6 separate regions of the Homo sapiens genome follow, and regions 1, 2, 3, 4 and 6 are each linked to region 5. The links are contacts of gene promoters, found by promoter capture Hi-C in blood cells and fetal thymus (Javierre and others, 2016). All regions are on one chromosome and are shown on one strand. Each heading gives the region's core, a stretch centred on a gene start or on the middle of the fragment in contact. The rest is flanking DNA. Distances are from core to core; before and after follow the strand shown.

Region 1 (3,399 bases), core at 465-2,964, 190 kb before region 5:
GAGGGCTTGGCTGAGCACATGCCAGCAAGACACCGTGAAGTCTAGAAGAAGGCTGCTAAGAGCTGGATAGGGCTCAGAGCTGGATGGGAATGCCAGAGGTGGCACAGTGTTGGGAGTTCCGGCCAATCCATAGTTAGGAGTAAGGACCATGTTCTGTCTAGAGTAAGGACCAATTCCTAAGACTAAGGACAAAACCAAAACAGACCAAGCCTGCGGGATCAATAAGATCCACTGGTAATTTAACCACCTACCAGAATAAAAGGGGCAGAGTCAAAGTCAGTAAATTAAAGAACAGACTTTTCCAGTGCAAAAGCTGTGCCTAACGAAGAGCTGCAACTGTGGTTACTTGCACGTGGTAGCAACACAGAACCTACTAACTTTTGGAAGAAATTTTATTGCCAAAGAAACCATGGATATGGCTGGGCATGGTGGCTCATGCCTGTAATCCCAGCACTTTGGGAGGCTGAGGTGGGTGGATCCCCTGAGGTCGGGAGTTCGAGACCAGCCTGCCAACATGATGAAACCCTGTCTCTACTAAAAATACAAAAATTAGCAGGGCATGGTGGCGGGTGCCTGTAATCCCAGCTATTTGGGAGGCCGAGGCAGGAGGATGGCTTGAACCTGCGAGAAAGAGTTTGCAGTGAGCGGAGACCACACCATTGCACTGCAGCCTGGACAACAAGAGCAAAACTCCGTCTCAAAAAAAAAAAAAAGAAAAAGAAAAAGAAAAAAAGAAACCACAGATATGGTCTACAAAAGCCTGGGATGGTTTTGACTCCTAAAGTAACTCTAGGGTCCCCAGACAGCACAGGCTGAAAGAGGTTGTGGAACCTATGAGCTCCCCCTTCCTCAAAGGATATAGTCTCCAGTGCCCACTTGAGATGTGGCCAGAAAAAACAACTGACAGAGAATAACCTCCCAGAAAACAAGCCCGTCCTCTCTGGGGCCAGTGGACAAGGGACTTGCTCCCAGACAGCGATGCCAGTGGTGACTCCATGCAAGGGAAGGGAGTCTTTGTAGGATCTCATTATCGCTATGAACCAGTGACTAATGCATGTTTTCCGTTCTTCCCTTTTCTGAAAGTTTTTATTAGTTATCCTGTTCCTTCTCCCCCAGCGCATACTGGGTTTATATGTCATAAGAAGCAAGAGAAGTAACTTTTCTTTTGGTTTATAGGTCAGCAGAGAGAGAGTCACATCTGGACCTTTGGGAGAGGATCCAGAGAGTCTGCACTTTGCACAGATGCCATCACTGTAGACCTGTCTTCCTTGGGGAGGAGCAAGTGTGTTCTGTGAGTGAGACAGACGGACATTTGGGTGGCTGCCCAGGCTCCTTTCCAGCTGGATGTAGCAAAGTTACCTAGTTCTAGACAATGGAATGGGAGCATATGTGATGTGTGCTACTTCCGGGTCATGCTCTTAAAGGGAATCGGGAGGAGTTTGTCTTGATTTATTGTTTTCCCTCTTCCCACCAGCTAGAATCCAAACATAATGATAGGAGCTACAGCAGGTATCTTAGAGCACGAGCTAGAAGTCCCACGTTGCGAAAAGCACATAGAGCTTCAGTCCCTGACCCCATCCAGCTGCCATGCCTAGTCTGCATTGCCCACCACCTGGCCTGTTTTTTGTTTTTTTGTTTTTTTGTTTTTGAGACACAGTCTCACTCTGTCATCCAGGCTGGAGTGCAGTGCTGCGATCTCGGCTCACTGCAACCTCCATCTCCTGGGTTCAAGCGATTCTCGTGCCTCAGCCTCCAGAGTAGCTGGTGGGATTACAGGCATGCGCCACCATGCCTGGCTAATTTTTGTATTTTTAGTAGAGAGGGGGTTTTGCCATGTTGGCCAGGCTGGTCTCGAACCCCTGACCTCAAGTGATCTGCCTGCCCCGGCCTCCCAAAGTTCTGGGATTACAAGTGTGAGCTACTGCGCCCAGCCCACCTGCACTTTTATCTGAGAGAGAAACCAGCTCCTATTTTTTAAGCCACCATCTTCAAGATCTTTTTGTTGCGGCTACCCGACCCATGATCTCAGCTCATCCTCCTCCTGCTGCTTATTCTCTGAGATGGCATTTGGGGTGTGGGAGGTGGGTCTTAGCTGGTCTAGTGGTGAAGGTGAAGAACAGGCCTCAGTTCCTGAGCACAGATTCATGTGCTGCCCTATACCTCCTCTGATTTCTGTAGCCAGTTTCATGTTGACCCCATCACAGGGCATGAATCTCGCTGACATCTGTTGCTTACGTTGATAGCTGAGAAACTCTAGCTCCTCCGAGTCCAGGGGTCCTTTCAATTGATTCTTCTCCACTTTGGTCCTACTACTGTGCTTGATCCCCCTCAGGGAACTTCCATTAGGCTCCCAGCCTGAGTGACCACCCAGCCGTCAACTATAGGGTCACCTCTCCTCACAGAAGCTCTTCCCCTGCAAGAGTATCCAGGAAATTCTCGACACTTTTCATGCCAATGAATGGGCAGCTAATTGTTGGTCTTGTCTCTGCCTAATAGGCAGACAGATTGATACAGGGCAGGTACCTGGTGAGGCTTCTCTTCCCAGAAGCCCAAATTGAAACAGAGTCAGAGGCTTCTCTTCTGCTTTCGGTGTTTCTTTCAATCTGCCTGTGTCTAGAACTGGGGCTGTCAGGACACATCTCTCACAACTGCTTCTCCCTGCTCCATCTTCCTCTTCCCCCTTCCATCTTCCTCCTCCCCCCTCCATCTTCCTCCTCCCCCCTCCATCTTCCTCCTCCCCCTACAACCCTCCCAGGGAAGGGGGGGCATTTTTCCACTTCCTCTTGATAGCGCATCTCCCATGTGGACTTTCATGATTAAATCTACCAAGGTTGGCCAGGTGCGGCGGCTCACGCCTGTAATCCCAGCACTTTGGGAGGCTGAGGCGGGCAGATCACCTGAAGTCAGGAGTTCCAGACCAGCCTGACCCACATAGCGAAACCGCATCTCTACTAAAATAAAAATTAGCCAGGCATGGTGGCGCATGCCTGTAATCCCAGCTACTCGGGAGGCTGAGGCAGGAGAATTGCTTGAACGTGGGTGGCAGAAGTTGCAGTGAATTAATGGGTGCAGCACACCAACATGGCACATGTATACATATGTAACAAACCTGCACGTTGTGCACATGTACCCTAGAACTTAAAGTATAATTAAAAAAAAAAAAAGAAGTTGCAGTGAGCCGGGATCACTCCATTGCACTCCAGCCTGGGCGACAGAGTGAGACTCTGTCTCAAAAAAAAAGTCCACCAAGGTTGAGCCTTGATCTATTAGAGGACGAGCTTCAGGATAAAATCAAAATCATTCCTTTTCTTTTTTCCATAAAGGCTTGCATTTGAGCCTCTGGTCTTGCTAAATGGGTTAAGGAAAGTTAAGAAAGTCTCTCAAGGGTGCCTCTGTCCC
Region 2 (3,647 bases), core at 37-2,536, 240 kb after region 5:
CTCTTACTGAATCCTCACAACCCTGCAAGGTAGGTTCTGTTTTACAGATGAGGAAACCAGAGCTCAGATAAGTTAAGCAGTGCATCCAAGTTTATAAAACTAGCAACGTGAGACACCAAGATTCAAACCCAGGTCCACCTGTCTCCAAATCCCATGTTCTTGTCTCTCTACCATGCTGACCCCCTGGAAGAGAAGCACATTCTACTTTCACCCTTGACCTGCTGCCTTCTGGCACCTTACCTAACCTAGAGCCCTTGGATCCAGCAGATGGACAGGGAAATTATGGCTAAAGGAGGTGGGCACTTTGCTACAATGGTTTGGGTTTCATACCTGTAGAGAGAAAGAATTACACCTGTGGATAGAAAGATGGATGGATATAGAAGCTAAATACAAGAGAAGACGATCGTGGATGGTTGTCTTCCATGTAGGGTACCAATGGAGAAAAGACAGACTTTTCAAGTAGTATTGGGAAAACTGGATATCCATATGTGAAAGGATAAAGTTTGCTGGTGTTGAACTCTATTTTTCGAGAAGGAAAATGAAAGTGCTCTTGTTTGGCATGTAACTGGAAGGGGATTTTCCGTCTTTCAGAAAAGGAAAGTCTATGTGGGCATCTTAGTAATGTAGCTATGAAAGAACTCTATCCATCTTAGACAATCTCTAGGAGTTGGAAATTTGAAAAAAGTTCCTAGATGTTCTACTAGAGAGAGGTCCTCCTTCTTCCGCCTTCCCCCATCATTGCTCCTTTCTTACCTTGAAGCAGAAAACCGAGAAGGAGGTAGAAGGAAAATCTTTTCCTGTGGAACCAGCTTCCTTCCATCTTCTTTGTCTAAGTTCTTCTCTGAACATGTACTGGGACCCAGGAATGCCCAGATTAAAGCAGCACAGGCCACACCTAGAGTCTGACTTTGAATACTAATAGCATTGGTTGACCACTGACATTTGTAACCTTCCTTCAAAGAGTGTTCTGGTTGTCTTGTTCTTGCCTATGCTTAAGGTTCAGTCTGCTTTTAAGACTTTATCTTAGTCTTAGGTATTTCACTGCAACGTAAATGGTTATAGATAGTTCATACGTGATCAACTTGCAGATCTTGGTGAGATCCCTTGGTCTGAAGACTCATCTCTTCAATTTTGGAAAATTCTCAGACATTTATAAATGTTTCACTTCCTCTATTTTTCTTATTAGACATGTGTTGAATGGTTTCCTTCTATCTTACATGCCTTTTATTGCTGTTGTAACAAATCACAAACCCAGTGGCTTAAATAAACACAATTTGTTATTTTACTGTTCTGTGGGCCAGAAGTTTGAAATGGGTCTCACTGGGCTAAAATGAATGTGTCAGCAGGACCGCATTCCCTCTGGAGGCTCTAGAGGAGAATCCATTTCCTTGCCTTTTCCAGATTTTTTTTTTTTTGAGACAGGGTTTCACTCTGTTGACCAGGCTGGAGTGCAGTGGCGCAATCGCGACTCACTGCAGCCTTGACCTCCTGGGCTCAAGGGATCTTTCCGTCTCAGCCTCCCAAGTAGCTGGGACCTCACAGGTGTGAGCCACCAAGCTTGGCTATTTTTTTTTTTTTTAGTAGAAATGAGGTCTCGCTTTGTTGCCTAGGCTTGTCTCCAACTCCTGGCCTCAAGTGATCCTCCAACCTTGATCTCCCAAAGTGCTGGGATTATAGACATGAGCCATTGTACCCGGCCTTTTCCAGCTTTTAAACTGCCTGTATTTCTTGGTTCATTATTTTTACTTCTCCATCTTCAAAACCAGCAACATCAGGCCAATGTTTCTCACAAGGCATCTCATCTCTCTGGTTCTTATTTGTTTCTCTCTCCTTCTTCCACTTATAAGAGCCTTTGTGATTGCATTGTGTCCATTTGGATAATCCAGGATAGTCTCCCCATCTCAAAGTCCGATAATTAACAACCTTAATTCCATCTGCAACCTTAACTCCCCTTTTCCATATAACCTAAGGTTCCAGAGATTAGGATGTGGACAAATTCTGGGGGCCGTTATTCTGCCTAGCACACCTCTCTTTCCTATTTTCTACCTCTTTATCTCTGTCCCTAATGATTTCTTCAGATCTAGCTTCCAGGAAAAAAATTCTCTCCTCAACTGTGTTTATTTTAATTAATTAATTAATTAATTTTTGATGAAACTCAGTAATTTTTATTGCAACTGGAAGACAATACATTGCAGAAACTTTATGGTAGGTCTGGGGAAAAGTGTTATTTACAATAGATTATGACATAATTTGTCTTTGACAATATGATTACATACGAAGAATGCAAAATGCAAGTATGGATGCCTTCCATATTTTATTTTATTTTGAGATGGAGTCTCATTCTGTTGCCCAGGCTAGAGTGCAGTGGCGTGATCTTGGCTCACTACAGCCTCCACCTCCTTGATTTGAGCGATTCTCCTGTCTCAGCCTCCTGAGTAGTTGGGACTACAGGCTTGTGCCACCACACCCAGCTAATTTTTGTATTTTTATTAGAGACAGGGTTTCACCATGTTGTCCAGGCTGGTCTTGAACTCCTCACCTCAGCTGATCTGCCCACCTCGGCCTTCCAAAGTGCTGGGATTACAGGAGTGAGCCACTGTGCTTGACCCTCAACTGTGTCTAATCTGTCCATCTAATCTGCCCACTGAGTTTTGGTTTTGTTTTTTTGTTTTTTTGTTTTTTAGAGAGAGGGTTTCACTGTCTCCCACCATGCCTGGCCCTCAACTGTGAGCCACCATGCTGGGATTACAGACGTGAGCCACCGTGCCCGGCCCTCAGCTGTGTCTAATCTGTCCACTGAGTTTTGCTTTTTGTTTTGTTTTGTTTTTTTTAGAGACAGGGTCTCACTGTCTCCCAGGCTGGAGTACAGTGGTATGATCATAGCTCACTGTAGCCTTGAACTCCAGGGCTCAAGCAATCCTGCCACCTCAGCCTCCCAAGTAGCTGGGACTACAGGTGCATGCCACCATGTGTGGCTAATTTTTTTTTATTGTTTCTAGAGACAGGGCCTTGCTATGCTGCCCAGGCTGGTGTTGAACTCCTGGCCTCAAGCAATCCTCCTGCCTCAGCCTCCCAAATCACTGGAATTTACAGGTATGAACCACTATGGCTAACCTTTTACCCATTTTTAAATCAAGTTGTTTTTTGTTGTTGAGTTTCAGGAATTCTATGTATAGTTTGGATATTAATCCCTTATCAGCTATATAATTTGCAAATGTTTTCTCCCATTTTGTGGGTTGTCTTCTTTCCTCTGTTAATAGTGTCTTTTGATTCATAGATGTTTAATATTTTCATGAAGTACTATTTGTCTATTTTTTCTTTTGTTGCCTATGCCTTTGTGTCATATCCAAGAAATCACTGCTAACTCCAATGTTTTGAAGCTTTTTCCCTATGTGTTCTTTTAGGAGTTTTATTGTTTTAGGTCTACACTTAAATCTTCTTTTTTTTTTTTGAGACGGAGTTTCACTCTTGTTGCTCAGGCTGAGTGCAATGGCATGATCTCAGCTCACTGCAACCTCCACCTCCTGGGTTCAAGTGATTCTCCTGCCTTAGCCTCTCAAGTAGCTGGGATTACAGGCATGTGCCACTACCCCCAGCTAATTCTGTATTTTTAGTAGAGACGGGGTTTCTCCATGTTGGTCAGGCTG
Region 3 (3,378 bases), core at 389-2,888, 210 kb before region 5:
TCAATCACAGAACCTGATCCCTGATCCCAGGGGCAGGTACCGGCCCGCGTTAGTCCTGGGAACTGGACTTCCGGGGCAGTCACAGGGACTGAAGGGGGTTGGTCCTGGGTCGGCAGAGCAGCAGGCTTTGGTCCTGCCCCAGTCTATCCCGAAAGCGGCTGTTCGTCTTTTCCTTCAACTGTCCCGTGTCCTTCCAACACTTTCTCTCTCTGCCTCCCTTTATCTCCTCAGTCTCTCCTCTTCTCTTTCCCTCCCACCCTTTCTCTCTTTCTGTGCTTAATTTAGGGCCTGTTTCTGATTCTAAAGCCTAAAATCCACATAACAGCACTGTTGGCAGGAGGCAGTGGGGCAGTGCCCAGGGAGTCTGGTTCCCAGAATGTTAGCTACTGCTGTGAGGGCCACCACCCAGTCATCCCAGAGCCAGCCTGATGGGAGAGGGCCCTCTGTGGGGCCGCTTAGCGGACCACGGACCCCCAGCAGATGAGCAGGGGTTGGCTGCTGACTCCTGGTCCTGCACGGGACCTGGCCTCTGGGTGTCCCCAGTGAGGGTCCATTTGCTGCTGCCTCATGCTCAGAGCCTGCAGATCAACCGCTCGCGGTCCTTTCTGAGGCAGTGGTCTTTGTAAACCTGCCCAGCCCAAGCTCCTCAGCCTGTGGTTGTTGGAGATTTCAGTTGTTCCTCTCACGGGAGCCCTCCAGGTCTCCAGGTCAGAATGTGTCCTCCTAGAGGCCCCTCAAGCTCCAGTGATTTTCTCCTGGATGTCTGTTGTTTTTTCCTCTTCAGGGCCACCTCAATTGCCCCACTTTGGGGAACTGCTGTACCCTCACTCCAATCATGGCATTCTAGTGGACTCTCTAGTCACTGTACCCCACCCTGTGGCCACACGGGTAATCAAGGGATGGGGGAAGAGACCGTGGAGCTGCCTTCATTTCCAGAGCTGCAATGTTGCCAGTTGGATTGCTGGTGACCATCTTCCCTAACATGGAGAACATTCATCTACAGTAACAGAAAAGAAAAGAAACAGAGAAGAATTCAGGGACAAAAAGAGATGAGACAATATCATCTGAATTCCTCCATCCAGTCTGCTTCTGGGCCCAACCACCTCCAGGTGAAAGACTGACTCCGTTCTTTATTTCACAAGCTTTTACTGAGCTCCCAGTGCAGGAAGGAGAATGCAGAAGAGTAAGGTAGTGTCACTGTCCTTGGGGGAGTGATTGTGCTGTGACAGACATATGTACATGTGCATGGATGCAGATACACATATGCACACACTCATGGGGGTAACACATGGGGCACAAAAGCAAAAGTGTGCAACTCTCATCTGGGCAAACATCTGGGAGGCGGTGGCTCCACAAAGACTTCATGGAGTTGGTGGCCCCAGAGGAGTCTTGAAGCTCCATTGGCAAGAGCAATCCTCAATGGGCCTGCCCTTCCAAGTAAGAGCCTAGGTTTCCAAAGCTGCTTAGTTGGAAATCCTTTGTGGACCTGTTGCTAAGAATAAGCCCTTGTCACATGAGCACACTGCTGAGCTGAAGGCCTTCTCTCAGAGGTGGCACAATACTGGAAGGGAACCATCGAATGCGGATGCCCTGAGCTGTCACCCCCACAGATTCCCATTGTGTCCCATCATTTCCTCCGGAAGTTTCAATGTTGGAAGGCCGACCTGACCTACCTCTTCAGGTTGAACAAATGGCCCAATTATCTGTGTACGATCTCAGATTGTCTTGAGCTGAATGGATGGGAATGGGGGGGCGGCTGTCTTGAAAAGAAAATGCCAGAGGGAGTCCAGCCATCCGCAAGCTGTTAGCTGGAGCCGATTGCCCACAAAGGATCCCTTTGTTATTCCAGGAGGTGTTGTCACAAGAGCTTGGCCACAGCTCTCGAAGCACATCCAGGAACAGTTCTAGTGAGAGCGTTGGCAGGGAGCTCTGTCTGGTGGCCTGGAACAGATTCTAATCTTGAGGAGACTGGGAGGGGTAACACCCGCCAACCTGCTTAGCACCACCTGCCCGGGAGCTGGCCGTCCCATGGGCAGTGACCAGGGAGCATGGCCAGCACTCCGCAGTGATGGGGCCAGAGCTTCTCAAGGAAAGGGCTTGTGAGTTTCTGGCTAGCTTCTTCTCTGAAAGCTTCCAGGGGCTCCTGCTTCCATCTTAAACAACTGTGGGACAATAGCAGAAACAATGGCAAGTGTTCCCCTGTGGTTTGTATAACAGGCTCTCCATCATTCAGTCTTCCCCACGTTGGCCACAGCAGAGTATCTGTGGATAGGAAATTGATGTGAATTCCCACCCTCCTACAGTAGGTGGCCATATAAATTATCTTTCAAGCCTGAACACCTTGAAGAGTCAAAGGTGGTGCTATTAATAATTACACTGGGACAACTGGCCTGAATTGGGACCACCTTGGGCAAATCTAGGAGTTTGGGCTCCCTACTTAGTCCTTTAAACAAAAGGTCAAGACGAAAGGATGATGCCTTGAGGCAGATTGTTGGTGGAGATGGCCAAGAAACCTTTCCAAAGGCCTCTTTTGCTTCATGTCTTTCACTCCATGTTTTGCAACAGGATGTTCTGAATCAATATTGGCTCAGCTTTGCCTCAGTGACCTCCATCCAGGCTTTGCCGAGGATGTCACAGCCAAGAACATGGTCTAGCTGTAGTTCTCTGTGCAACTATTCTCCCAAAAGGTTGTTAGGGACTGTATAAAGAATATAGGCTTGTGGCTGGGTGCAGTGGCTCATGCCTGTAATCCCAGCACTTTGGGAGGCCGAGGCAGACGGATCACCTGAGATCAGGAGTTTGAGACCGGCCTGGCCAACATGGTGAAATCCCATCTCTACTAAAAAAAAAAAAATACAAAAATTAGCAGGGCATGGTGGCGGGCACCTGTAATCCCAGCTACTCTGGAGGCTGAGGCAGGAGAATTGTTTGAACCCAGGAGACAGAGGTTGCAGTGAGCCGAGACCGTACCACTGCACTCCAGCCTGGGAGACAGAGCAAGACTCTGTCTCAAAAAAAAAAAAAAAAAAGAATGTAGGCTTGTACATGTGAAATGTGGCTATACTAAGTGTGAGTGAGGGCACAGAGCAACAGAAACTGGCACACGCTGGCATGAGGGTAACCTGCATGACAGACGGGAAAAGCACCATACCCTCAGCCCAGTAACCACCCCGGGTGTACACCCTTGGGAAAGTCTCACACATGTGCAGGATATCAGAACAAAAATCGTTGTAGCAGCATTATCTATAACAGTAAAAAACGGGAAGCAAGGCCGGACGCGGTGGCTCATGCCTGTAATCCCAGCACTTTGGGAGGCCGAGGCGGGCGGATCACGAGGTCAGGAGATCGAGACCATCCTGGCCAACACGGTGAAACCCC
Region 4 (3,783 bases), core at 741-3,240, 180 kb before region 5:
AGATATATTCATGTTACACCATCTTGGCCAACATGGTGAAACCCCGTCTCTACTAAAAATTCAAAAATTAGCTGGGCGTGGTGGCACGCGCCTGTAGTCCCAGCTACTCAGGAGGCTGAGGCAGGAGAATCGCTTGAACCCGGGAGGTGGAGGTTGCAGTGAGCCGAGATCGCACCACTGCACTCCAGCCTGCGCCACTGCACTCCAGCCTGGCGACAGAGCAAGACTCTGTCTCAAAAAAAAAAAAAGACATACTCATGTTACAGCATATATCAAAATTTCATTTCTTTTTATGGCTGAATAATGTTCTATCTCTGTTTATACCACATTTTGTTTATCTATTCATCTGCTGATGAACTCTTAGATTGCTTTCACCTTTTGACTACTGTGAATAATGCTGCTATGAACATGAGTGTACAAATATCTGTTGAAGTTCCTGCTTTCAATTCTCTTGCATATATACATAGGAGCAGAATTTCTGGATCATACAGTAGTTTTATGCCAAATCTAATTTTTGTAAGATAAATAGATATCCCCTGCCGACCATTAGGAACAAATGAAAGAAATCAAATGCAAGCAATATTAGAAATTAAGAGGGTGATATAATGCCAGATACAAAAAGAGAGAAAAATAATTATAAGACAATATTACATACAACCCTAGGGCACCCAACTTGAAAATCTAGAGATTTGTTTCAACAAATCTAGGAATTGTTGAATTCCTAGAAAAACATAAACTGATATCAAAAGAGATTGAAAATTTAAATAGGTCAGTTACCCAGGAAGAAATTGGAAAAGTAAAAGTAATGTAGGAATAGAAAGACATTTCTTAAATATGATGAAAAATATTTACCAGAAGTCAATAGCAAATATCTTTCTTACTAAAACCATGAAACCCTCAAGCTATTTCCATTAAATTAGGAAAGTACAAAGAAGGGATGCTTACCATGATCATTATTATTCAACATGTTTTAAAGGCTCAATTGCATTATTGGGGAAAAAAGAAAGTATAAGAACGAATTCTAACAGCAGAAAAAGTTATATTTACCTGCAGATACTATGATTATACATGGAGAAGAACCCAAAAGACTGCAGTAAACATTCTACTAGAGAAGACATAAATAAGCAAATAAATAAACAAGATATTCACAGACTGTAAAAAGTACTCTGCAGGAAATAAACAGAGCAGTGATGAAGAGTAGCTAGGCAAAGGGCCTCACTCCAGACACAGTGGCCAGGAAAGGATTTCCTCCAGGGGAGATCCTGAAGCTAGGACCCAGGCAAGGAGAGGAAGAGCTCCAAGAACGGCATTCCAGCCAGAGGGAACAGTGTGTGCCAGGGTGGGTTTGAAGAACAGCAAGAAGGCCACTGGGACAGCAGCTAGAAGGGAAGAGGGTGTTGTGAGAGAAAGTGGGGTGGTGTGGGGGCTGTAGGCCAGAGTAAAAAGGTTGAACTTGACTCTAAATGCCATAAGAAGACATTGAAGGACTTTAGCCAGATTTATGCTTTTTTTTTTTTTTTTTTTTTTTTTTTTTGAGATGGAGTCTGGCTCTGTCGCCGAGGCTGGAGTGCAGTGGCAGGATCTTGGCTTACTGCAACCTCTACCTCCCAGGTTCAAGCGGTTCTCCTGCCTCAGCCTCCCGAGTAGCTGCGATTACAGGTGCCTGCCACCACACTTACCTAATTTTTTGTATTTTTTGGTGGAGATGGGGTTTCACCGTGTTCGCCAGGATAGTCTCGAACCCTTGACCTCCGGTGATCCACCCACCTTGGCCTCCCAAAGTGCTAGGATTACAGGCGTGAGCCACCACGCCCAGCTTCTTATTTATGTTTTTGAAAGAATATTATATGTGCTTTGTAGGGAGGAAGGCAAGGGGGGCTAAGGACGCCAATTAGAAAGCTATAGCTATGGGACAGGTGGGAAGTCACTGTGGTGTGCCTTAGGAAGTGGCACCGGGGCGAAGAAGACACACGGGTGGAAGTGAGCTGTATTTTAGAGTTAGGCCCCCAACTGGAGGGATGTACAGATGTTAGCCCTTTCCTGGTATATCCTCACTGACCTCTTTATTTTGAAACTCTAAATGTCACTTTGTTACAGCTATGTATCTTAGAAGCTAGGTAGATAGGCCGTTTTAGGCTTTTTACTTTTTTTTTTTTAATAGGGGAGTTTAATCCGTCTGCAGTAATTTTGCTCTGTTCTGTGGTTTCTCCTTTTGTCCTTCCTTTCTATTTTTAGTTACCATGGCTTCCCTGCCCCTTCCTCTTTTGCTTCCCCTTGCCTTGGTCTTTTGTTCCTGATTCCTGAAGGACTGTTGGAGTTTTCCCGGTCTCGTCTTTCTTAACGCTCTAAGGGTTTGGAAGTTTAACGTCCTATCTCTACTCCGGGTCTAGTGACCGTTCAGGGTCTTAAGACATTTTCAGTGCTAGCCCGTGCGTCTTTGTTTCCCCATCTTTCTTTAGTTCCCTTGTAAGCCTTTGTGATCACTTCAAATCCTTTTTAGAAATAGCTTCCAGATGAAGAAGTGAAGCTGCCTGGCGCATAGATGTGTTCAAGTCTCCCTTCTTTTCGCTCAAGGAGAGTGAAGAGTGGATGGTGCCAATTCTAGCTGGGAGGAGTGAAGGACGGGGAGGGGGACGATGAGGCAGGAGGAGACCACGCCGCCCTCCTGGGAGGGGGCTGACTCGACCCAGCTGGTTCGGGTGTGCACCATCCTCACTCTCTCCGCCCTTCCAGGGCTGCACTGCGCCCCGCTCTCGGCAAGACACGGGTGACGCTCCGGAGATTTAATTCCCCTGCTCAGGTCAGTGTAGGGCCTCAGGGAAGTTCAAAGCTCGCCCACTAGAGGGCATTGGCGCGTTTCCCAGAAGACACGGCCCCGGGAGCTTTCGGGCTCTCCAGCAGCCCAGGGGGACTCCGGCGTCCGCGTAGACTGGTTCTGCGCAGGGGGCTGGGGCTGCTGGCGAAGGAGGTCGGGCGCTGCAGAGGAGCTCATAGACCCTACAGCGCAGTCAGGGTCGGGGAGGCCGCTGATTCTCCCGCTTCAGGGCGTTCAACTGCAGGACGAAGCGTCCCCAACGCGCACACCCGACTCTGGAGACCCGAGTGTGTGCGGGAGGCCAGCCCCGCCGAAGCGCCGTCCAGGATCTGCCGAAGCGCCGTCCGGGATCTGCCGAAGCGCCATCCAGGATCTGCCGAAGCGCCATCCAGGATCTGCCGAAGCGCCGCCCGGGATCTGCCGCCGCACGCAAGAGCCCAACCATAGAGGACAGCGGGGGCACCTAGTACCCGTGGAGATCCCAAACTCCTCTCACCCCAGCCCCAAAGCACTTCTCCCAATGCTGCTGCCGTGCCTGAATCCCGCCCACGCGTGAGAATCACCCCATTATTACAGAAGACCCCTGTCAAATGCACACGCGTTAACCACGTGTTACCCAAGGACGACTCAGTCATCCTTTAGGACTCGGTGATACATTAGCACAGATGAACCTGGCACTGAGGTGGGATGAGGTGGGGAGATCTTTTGGCCGCAGGTCATTTAGGATATTGTTATTACTGCAAAGACCACAGAACAGCCATGGTTTAGTCACTTATTCCTTGCCAGGAGCTTCGTCTCATTGTCTCTTTTAATAAACAATATTTTGAGATCACTTTGTTATAGTGATGTCTGCTGGTTTCCCCACTGTAAAATGACTAGTTTTCCCTTTGTAATTAATAAATATTTGGGGGGAGATGCTTTGAGACTGTGACGTATTCTGTTTCTTCTCAAACTCTTCCCCTCTCCTC
Region 5 (3,386 bases), core at 612-3,111:
AAAATAAATAACAAAAAACAAAAACCCTTCTCCACCAATCCCTGTCAGCAAGCAGCCCGCCTGCCTCCAGGAAAAGGAACTCAGCTTTCCTCTGGGCCAAGAATGCCATCCTTACGTGAAAAAATGCTTGCCATCACTTAAGGCCCATCTCAAGTGTCACCTGCAAATAATGCTTTCAGCCGACAGCCTCTTCTTTTCTCTGACACACCCCGCCCCCATCATTGCCCTTGTCTGTCTCCCGAGGGAGCTCAGGATGGCAAGGCCTAAGTCTGATGCACGTAAGTTCCTAACTCCACCCTGTACCTGGCTCAGGGCTCCCTGACAAGCCCCAGCAAATGTTTCCCTCACTTAATGAAGTTGGAGGCACACATCCCTCCCCGGCATTGCCCAGCTCTCTTCTATCACGTTCCCGTCCCTCACAAGGGCAGCCAACACTGCCCCTTGACCTGAGGCCCACCCTCGATCCCTCCCCTTGGGTACCTGGCTGACAGGGCCCCCAGGGTGGCGCCAGTAGCCTCCAGCCAGGCCTAGGCGGGGGAGCACCTGCTGGGTGTTTCTTAGCTTGCTCTCCCTCCCTCGCTTCGCTCCCCTCAGCCGCCGCCATCCGTGCCCGGCGCTCCGCGCAGCTGCGGCCCAGGCCCAGAGAAAAGGTGTATGTCTCCCTGGCAACCCATCACCACGCAACAGGGTCTCCCGGGATACGGCCCGGGATGCGCTGACGTCAGCGCGGAAGGCGCGAGCTCTCCGCCTGCTGGCACAGCGCCGAGCAGAGCAGACCGGCACGGGGGCGGCCTCCCGGCCCGCCGCCGGATAGCGCCTCCGCCCGCCGGAAAAGGGAGCCAGAAGCTGGCTGGCCAGGCGTGGGTGGGGGCTGCAGATCCCCTTTATATGGATGACGTCCTCCTTCCCCCCACCACCAGGGGCCCAGCACCTCTGGCAAGTCCTGACTGTCCACCGAGGAAGGGCGGGAGGACCTGCTCCAGCCTCGGAGGGTTCGAGCAGATCCCAAAGAGGATAGAGAGAGACCCCGAGGAAGTTCGATCCACTCCACAGCCCAAGCGGGGTCCGAGGACACTGAGAGGAAGGGGAAAGGCTGTTGAGCTGTGCCCCTACTTCTGCAGAGATCCCCATTTTCATCCAGTATTGCCGTATCATTTCTCGGCCCCTCCCCCACCTTCCAGAAGACCAGCGCCCACTGAGTGCTCTCCTCAACTCTAAAAGCCCCCATCCCACACATCACTGACCCTCGGGCCCCTGGGGCCATTCTGTGGCAGCCCACTTGCCACCTTCCTGCTCTGGATAAATTTTGCCTCAAAACCCTAGGGTGAAACCAAACAATGATAAATTCTGACTCTCCTTCCCGTTTCCCAGCCTACCCATTCCTCTTGGAAAGCACACTGAGTTCTTCCGCCATCACTGTCCCCCCCACCACCGCCACCCTGGACCCTTTGCAGGAGGGTTGCCTTCCTTCTCTCTTCCTGCTGCCTTCTTTCCTCTCGCCAGCCTCAGCTGGTCCACAGCTCTTTACTCTTCTTTTCTGACGAACTCATGATATTTTTTCTGATTTTCACCCCTGTCCCCTGAAGCCGTTTCCTGATGCCCTGTCTGGCCCCAGCCTGGTTCTCCCTGTTTCAGCCTGGTTCTTAATATCTAAGCCAGAGTAATTTTCCTTTTCCACCTAAGCACCCTACTGCTCAGCTTCCCATCATCTCCCAGATCACATCCATGATCCCTGGTCTCACCTCTGCGACTTGTCTGACAAGTCCATCGTCCTCCAGGCCCTTCACGCTGCCACAGAAACATTTTGCCCAGCACAGAAATCATAGGCATGCTGGCTGTGTTGATGCAGAGAACCAAAAGCCCAGAACCGCTCCAGGCTCAGCTCCCAGTTCTATTCCTGTTTTGGCTCCGGATGCTGAGCCAGTCCCCTCCCCATTTGGAACCTGTGCCTAGTCACATAAGGAGAACATTCCTGCCTCATGGCTCTGAGGAGGTGGGAACACCAGGGCTCAGCCAAGCTCTCTGGGACTCGGGGAGCTGAGGCCCATTCCCTAGACAGTGCCAACAGGCAATGTACATCACAACTGACCTTTAGCTGGAGCAGCCGTCTCTATCCCTGAGCCTCGGCCAGCTGTTGGTCCCCAGAAATGCTACCAACCAGAAGGAAAACAGGAGGTTACAGGCCATCCCTGGCCCCCAACTGGTACCTAACCAGGGCTCTCGAGGCCAGTCCTGAGGTCAGCCAAACTCACCCCTGACAAGAGAAGGTGATGACTTCCTGAACTCCAAGCCTTGATAGGGCCAGAGAGATCAGAGCAGTCAGCTGCTCCTCAGCTTCAAAAGCCACGAGGTTAACTTAGGACTACAAATCCCAGAATTCCTCAAGGGAAGTACAAATCTCAGCCAGTCTTAGCTCCAAAGAACATCAAGTACCAACCACACCAAGGCCTGTGTGACTGACCACCTGCCCTGAAGGTCCAGGACCCATCCCAAACCCAGTCCTGCCTTGCCTTATGCGTGGAGAAATCCACCACACCGGAGTAAAGGAAGCTGGCCGACCTCTGATGCACAGGACTACGGCCAGGCCCGGTGTGCATGGCCACCCACGGAAACCGAGGCCCAGGCAGGGGTCAGCACTGTGGGAAGGAAGCCCTGATGGCCTGCCTCTGGGTTCCTCTTTCCCTCCACAGAGTAGAGTGATTTGTTTTTGCTGAGTGGGGGCAGGACATTAAAACAACTGTAATAGGTGAGAGGTGATTCAGTGTTCACAGGTGCCCCAAACGGGACCTCAGTCCCCCTTCGCCGACTGACTGAAGAGGGGAGTCAATGTCCGACAAAAATTCTGTGGTAGGGTGCTTAGCCAGGACCGAAAGGCTACCTCTTTAAGAAGATGGGGACACGGCTGGGAGAAGCAGGTTCCCAGCACAGGGCCACTCCCAGGACTGTGAAGGCAGAGGTGTAGGCGGAGGGGAGTGTGTGTGTGGGCGCGCAAGGCCAGTCGCCGAGGGCTGGAGTGGTGGGGGCATCGGGCTGCCCAGCCCCTCCCGGGGCTGTGCGTCTCCGGCCACCCTGAGCAGTGGGCACACGGCAGCCAGCGGCGAGACCATGCGTCTGCCCTGCAAAACCCCAAGGCAGGCAGGCCGTGGGAGCGAACCGGAGTCGGTCTGGCCCCTTCCCTGCTCATTCCCGCTCCCTCCTGTTGCCTGGCCCGCCTCCCGGTGCAGGCTCCTCCCTCTCCCGACACCGGCCCCCTCCTCAAGGCCCCCACCCACCCGCGGCCCGCGCACCGGCGGCCGCAGCCCGACTCCCCAACCCGTACCCGGCCTCCGCCTCTTACCCTGACCCGCCGGGCTCCGAGAGCCGATACAGCCCATGGCCGGGCACCC
Region 6 (3,618 bases), core at 117-2,616, 150 kb after region 5:
GAACAGACTCAAAGGCTCAGGAAAAGACATAGTCAGAAATCCCCCCAAAAGATACTCCAATTAGACAGTCAACTCCCAACCCCATCACAGACAGTCCCCTCCCTTGCTTCCTCCTCCTCACCGAGGACTGTTCCCTCTTTAGCAGTCCTGGAAGTTTGGTTCCACAGTCTGTAAGCGATAAGAAAAGCAGTCACCTTCTCCCTGAGGGAAGGGAAACTAACATTTTGAGTGACTAATAGGAACCAGGCACAGACACAGATGTTTTCTACAAAACCTTATAATACTGCAGATAGATGGCTATTATCTTCCCTGCACTAAAAACAAAACAAAACAAAACAAAACAAAACTCACGTAGAAGGATACAGAGGCATAGACAAGGCTGGGGACAGATAACCAACTCTTACAAGATCATGCAGCTGGTTAGCAAGTTGCAAAACTGGGGGTGAAAGCAAGTCTGTCCAGCTCCAGGCTCTTATGCTTCCTATCCTACCCAAGAGCTTGGAGGGAGAACCCTCCAACCTCCTCCCCACCCCCATCATGGGCTCTTCTGCCCTCGGTAAAGACATCAACTAGCTCCTACAACCTTGTCCTGTGGAAAAGACGTAGGAGCCCTAAGCTGCAGGCAGCAGATGGTTGGGGGCGGAGAAAAGCACAGGGGGGCAGTTAGTTCAACCTCCCCTCACTCTCACCGTAGTTCTCCGTTATCTTTGACAACTGGATAGGGGCGTCCAGTAGCACCTGGCTATTTCCCTGGCTTTGTGGCTCAGCCCTATGTGGGTAGGGATAGAAAGCGCAGAGTTAGGAGTTGAGGGAAAAGCTCTATGGCCATCAGATCTTCCTCCCCCACCTCTTGTCTCCGGACCGTTCGCCGTCCCTTCGCCCCCATCAACCCCTACTCCCTGGCACATACAGACGCAGAGTGTTGTACATGCGCTGGCACACGGCCCTGATGCCCGCGTCATCCTTGCTGTCCCCGGACACCTCTTGCAATAGTTCCCCTACAGCTTCCACCAGGTCATCCACAGACTCGAAGTCCGCGCTGCCGCTGTGCAAGACGCCTGGGCAGGGCGTGGTAGAACGAGGAAGGTATCGGGTAGGGTGGACACACAAGCAGTTTCAGACCCCAGACAGAGGCCCCAGTCCAGGCTCCAGACCCAACCAGCCCCCGGGACAAGAGGTCATGCAGAGGAGAGGCCTGGCAACAGTCCCGGGCACGACGCTCGCTTAGACTTTCCCCCGGCCTCCACTTCGGTCTCCCCAGCCGGCCGATTCAGTTCTGCTTACCGGTCACGTAGTCGAAGACTTGTCCGTCAATTTCGGGGAACTCGCTCCGCAGGATTTCGGCGCAAGTCGCCATGTTCCACTCAGGAACCCGTCCGCGCAGTCGCTGTGAGACCCCGGCCTAGGCCCGCCCCCCGCCCTGCCCCCGAAATCTCGCCCTTCCTTGCAAGGCGCATGTGTAGCGGTGACGCAGGAAAGGAGCGGAGTGCGCAGAGCCCGGTGGGCGGGGCGAGCGGGGCCTTGAGGAGAGGCGCCGAGTCTGCGCCGGAGCCGCGCTCTCTGCGCGTGCGCGACACCTTTTCCGCTGAAAGATTAGCCACATGTGCGGTTCTCGCTGCCTTCTGGGAGGTGGAGTTCCGGGAGCGAGGGGTGGGGCAAAGGCTGGGAGCTCAAGGTTTATCGGGGCCGCGAGGCACCCGTGGTCTGGCGGGTGGGAGCCTCCCAAGAGGCAGGCGGCTGATAAAGCACTTTGGCTTTGCCAGGTTTTATGCGCTCCCTCGAGGCGCGTCTGCTGCTGGTGCGTACCCAGTCAGGCCCATTTTGGAGCCTGCCCAGAGCTTTGCTGACTCACCCCGGTCCCTGACTCTCAGAAGCCCCCTGCTCAGTGCTTTGCTTTCGCGGGTCCCCAGACCCTACGGGCTTCTCAGCCTGGTGGCCAGCGCCACCCGCCTCCCCGCCGCGACCGCCTTTTCACTGTGTAATTCAGCCGACCTTTGTGAATTAAGCCCATTCAGTTCTTCCACCACCCCAGGGCACGACCAAATCCACCGCCAAAGGGCAAGAAAACCAGGACAACGTGGCCTGTATAAATTATTCCCTACCTACACCCTGAGCAGACTTCTCTGCACTCAATAAATGCCAATAAAAGGCTATTTCCTTTCACCGATTCCCTCGGGAAGTTAGGAATTTCCTCCAAAATGATGCTACTGCTTTATATTTAACGTGAATATTCCTCCAATTGGTCTCTAAAAGTGGCACCGAAAATTACATTATTACCCATTCATCCCTTTGGATTAAACATTGCCATCATGAGGCATCAATCCCGATATTGAACCATTTTACAGGAAATACAGGTAAAGAGGAATATGTTAAGTGACTTCATGGGGACAACAGGCAAATTCTGATGTGGTAAACTACAGAACTCTGGTTTCTTCCACAAAATTGCAAGACCTGAAGGGAAACATCAATTTTTAAAATTTGAGGAGCATTAACCAACCACAATGGACCTTATCTGGAAAAATTTGATAAGACACCTGGTTAAGTGAACACAAACTGGATGTGATATTAAGGAACTGGCCACGCATTGATCATAGTTGAAGCTGGGTGATGAGACATGGAGATTCATTATATTCTTTTTTTTTTTTTTTTTAATTTGAGAAGGAGTTTCGCTCTTGTTGCCCAGGCTGGAGTACAGTGGCGTGATCTTGGCTCACCGCAGCCTCCACCTCCTGGGTTCGAGCGATTCTCCTGCCTCAGCCCCCGAATAGCTGGGATTACCGGCATGCACCACCACGCCCGGCTAATTTTGTAATTTTAGTAGAGACGAGGTTTCCCCATGTTGGTCAGGCTGGTCTCGAATTCCGGACCTCGGGTGATCCACCCGTCTCGGCCTCCCAGAGTGCTGGGATTACAGTGTGAGCCACCGCGCCCAGTCCATTATGTTATTCTCCTTGCAAATCTTTCCTCCTACCACCCAGTCAGCAAGATTTGGGAAGCTTGGGTAAATGATGGAATTAAAAGGTCAATTTCTTAGGATGGCTACAAGACCAAATGTAAACTTCACACTTAATTTATGCTTAATCTAATTAGAAAACATCTGCCTAAGAATTAGAGAAAGAGCTGGGTGCTGTGGTGGTGCGTGCTTGTGATCCCAGCTACTCCAGAGGCTGGGGCAGGTAAGATCTCTTGAGCCTAGGAGTCCGAGGACCAGGGGGAATAAAAAGGAGCTAGGGAAAGAATCTATCCCCAGGGTACTGGGGCCCGCTGCGGCTGCATGCCCTTGAGGCTTTCTAAGAGGAGCCAGGAAACCTGGGCCCAGAACCCACAAGGATAAGGGCTTGGATGGCCCAGGAGGGGCCTAACTGGGACAAGACAAGGAAAGAGCCTTTAGAGTATTCAGTACAGAAAACTGCACGGAGAGCAACACCAGTTCCCTCCCCATGTAGCTCCCACATCAACACTAAGCCAGCAACTCCACTCTACAGAGTTTATTGGGTTTGTAACTGGACGAAGTCACACGTGTACAAAATGAAGCTCACACTATCCCAAAGCAGAGTAGGGACTGAGGCCGGGGATCCATTACTGGCCTTTGGGGGAGCTCTGAGGTGAGGGGCAACC

Evidence for each region. Contacts are between HindIII fragments. The CHiCAGO score rates a contact against its expected background, and 5 or more counts as called.
Region 1: a contact is called between a fragment that was not itself captured here and the fragment with the promoter of FAM131A in region 5, in 8 of 17 cell types (M0 macrophages, naive B cells, M2 macrophages and 5 more). The highest score is 7.4, in M0 macrophages.
Region 2: the fragment with the promoter of HTR3E here is called in contact with the fragment with the promoter of FAM131A in region 5 in 3 of 17 cell types (naive B cells, neutrophils and total CD4 T cells); the score reaches 6.0 in naive B cells.
Region 3: a fragment that was not itself captured here is called in contact with the fragment with the promoter of FAM131A in region 5 in 2 of 17 cell types (megakaryocytes and endothelial precursors); the score reaches 5.6 in megakaryocytes.
Region 4: a fragment that was not itself captured here is called in contact with the fragment with the promoter of FAM131A in region 5 in 1 of 17 cell types (total CD8 T cells); the score reaches 5.1 in total CD8 T cells.
Region 6: the fragment with the promoter of ABCF3 here is called in contact with the fragment with the promoter of FAM131A in region 5 in 17 of 17 cell types (naive CD8 T cells, non-activated CD4 T cells, total B cells and 14 more); the score reaches 35.6 in naive CD8 T cells.

Annotation. Positions count from the first base shown.
Region 1 is chr3:184,529,711-184,533,109 of GRCh38, reverse strand. All of the region lies in intron 6 of LINC01839 (long intergenic non-protein coding RNA 1839), which reads right to left. Among named protein-coding and RNA genes, the nearest start is that of LINC01840, 26 kb to the left of the region's middle. The HindIII fragment of the contact is 3,749 bases long and covers 1-3,399 here.
Region 2 is chr3:184,094,703-184,098,349 of GRCh38, reverse strand. It overlaps HTR3E (5-hydroxytryptamine receptor 3E), which reads right to left and starts at 1,286. Exons shown (of 9, transcript NM_001256613.2): 1 at 754-1,286. The coding sequence starts at 820. It overlaps HTR3E-AS1 (HTR3E antisense RNA 1), which reads left to right. Exons shown (of 3, transcript NR_133658.1): 3 at 3,000-3,232. The HindIII fragment of the contact is 4,461 bases long and covers 1-1,559 here.
Region 3 is chr3:184,548,491-184,551,868 of GRCh38, reverse strand. LINC01839 (long intergenic non-protein coding RNA 1839) reads right to left here. Exons shown (of 8, transcript XR_924788.3): 7 at 1,674-2,262; 8 at 1-997. The region is part of intron 1 of LINC01840 (long intergenic non-protein coding RNA 1840); the gene reads left to right. Among named protein-coding and RNA genes, the nearest start is that of LINC01840, 6.7 kb to the left of the region's middle. The HindIII fragment of the contact is 988 bases long and covers 1,145-2,132 here.
Region 4 is chr3:184,512,976-184,516,758 of GRCh38, reverse strand. The region is part of intron 6 of LINC01839 (long intergenic non-protein coding RNA 1839); the gene reads right to left. Among named protein-coding and RNA genes, the nearest start is that of LINC01839, 39 kb to the right of the region's middle. RefSeq lists enhancers at 2,664-2,958, 2,662-3,162. The HindIII fragment of the contact is 5,319 bases long and covers 1-3,783 here.
Region 5 is chr3:184,336,075-184,339,460 of GRCh38, reverse strand. It overlaps FAM131A (family with sequence similarity 131 member A), which reads right to left and starts at 1,861. Exons shown (of 6, transcript NM_144635.5): 1 at 1,743-1,861; 2 at 932-1,074. The coding sequence starts at 1,830. RefSeq lists an enhancer at 708-1,319 and silencers at 3,118-3,187, 3,111-3,311, 3,228-3,386. The HindIII fragment of the contact is 18,780 bases long and covers 1-3,386 here.
Region 6 is chr3:184,183,947-184,187,564 of GRCh38, reverse strand. ABCF3 (ATP binding cassette subfamily F member 3) reads right to left here and starts at 1,366. Exons shown (of 21, transcript NM_018358.3): 1 at 1,285-1,366; 2 at 911-1,058; 3 at 690-769; 4 at 122-168. The coding sequence starts at 1,357. It overlaps AP2M1 (adaptor related protein complex 2 subunit mu 1), which reads right to left. Exons shown (of 12, transcript NM_004068.4): 12 at 3,474-3,618. RefSeq lists enhancers at 1,062-1,381, 1,859-2,573. The HindIII fragment of the contact is 6,180 bases long and covers 1-2,998 here.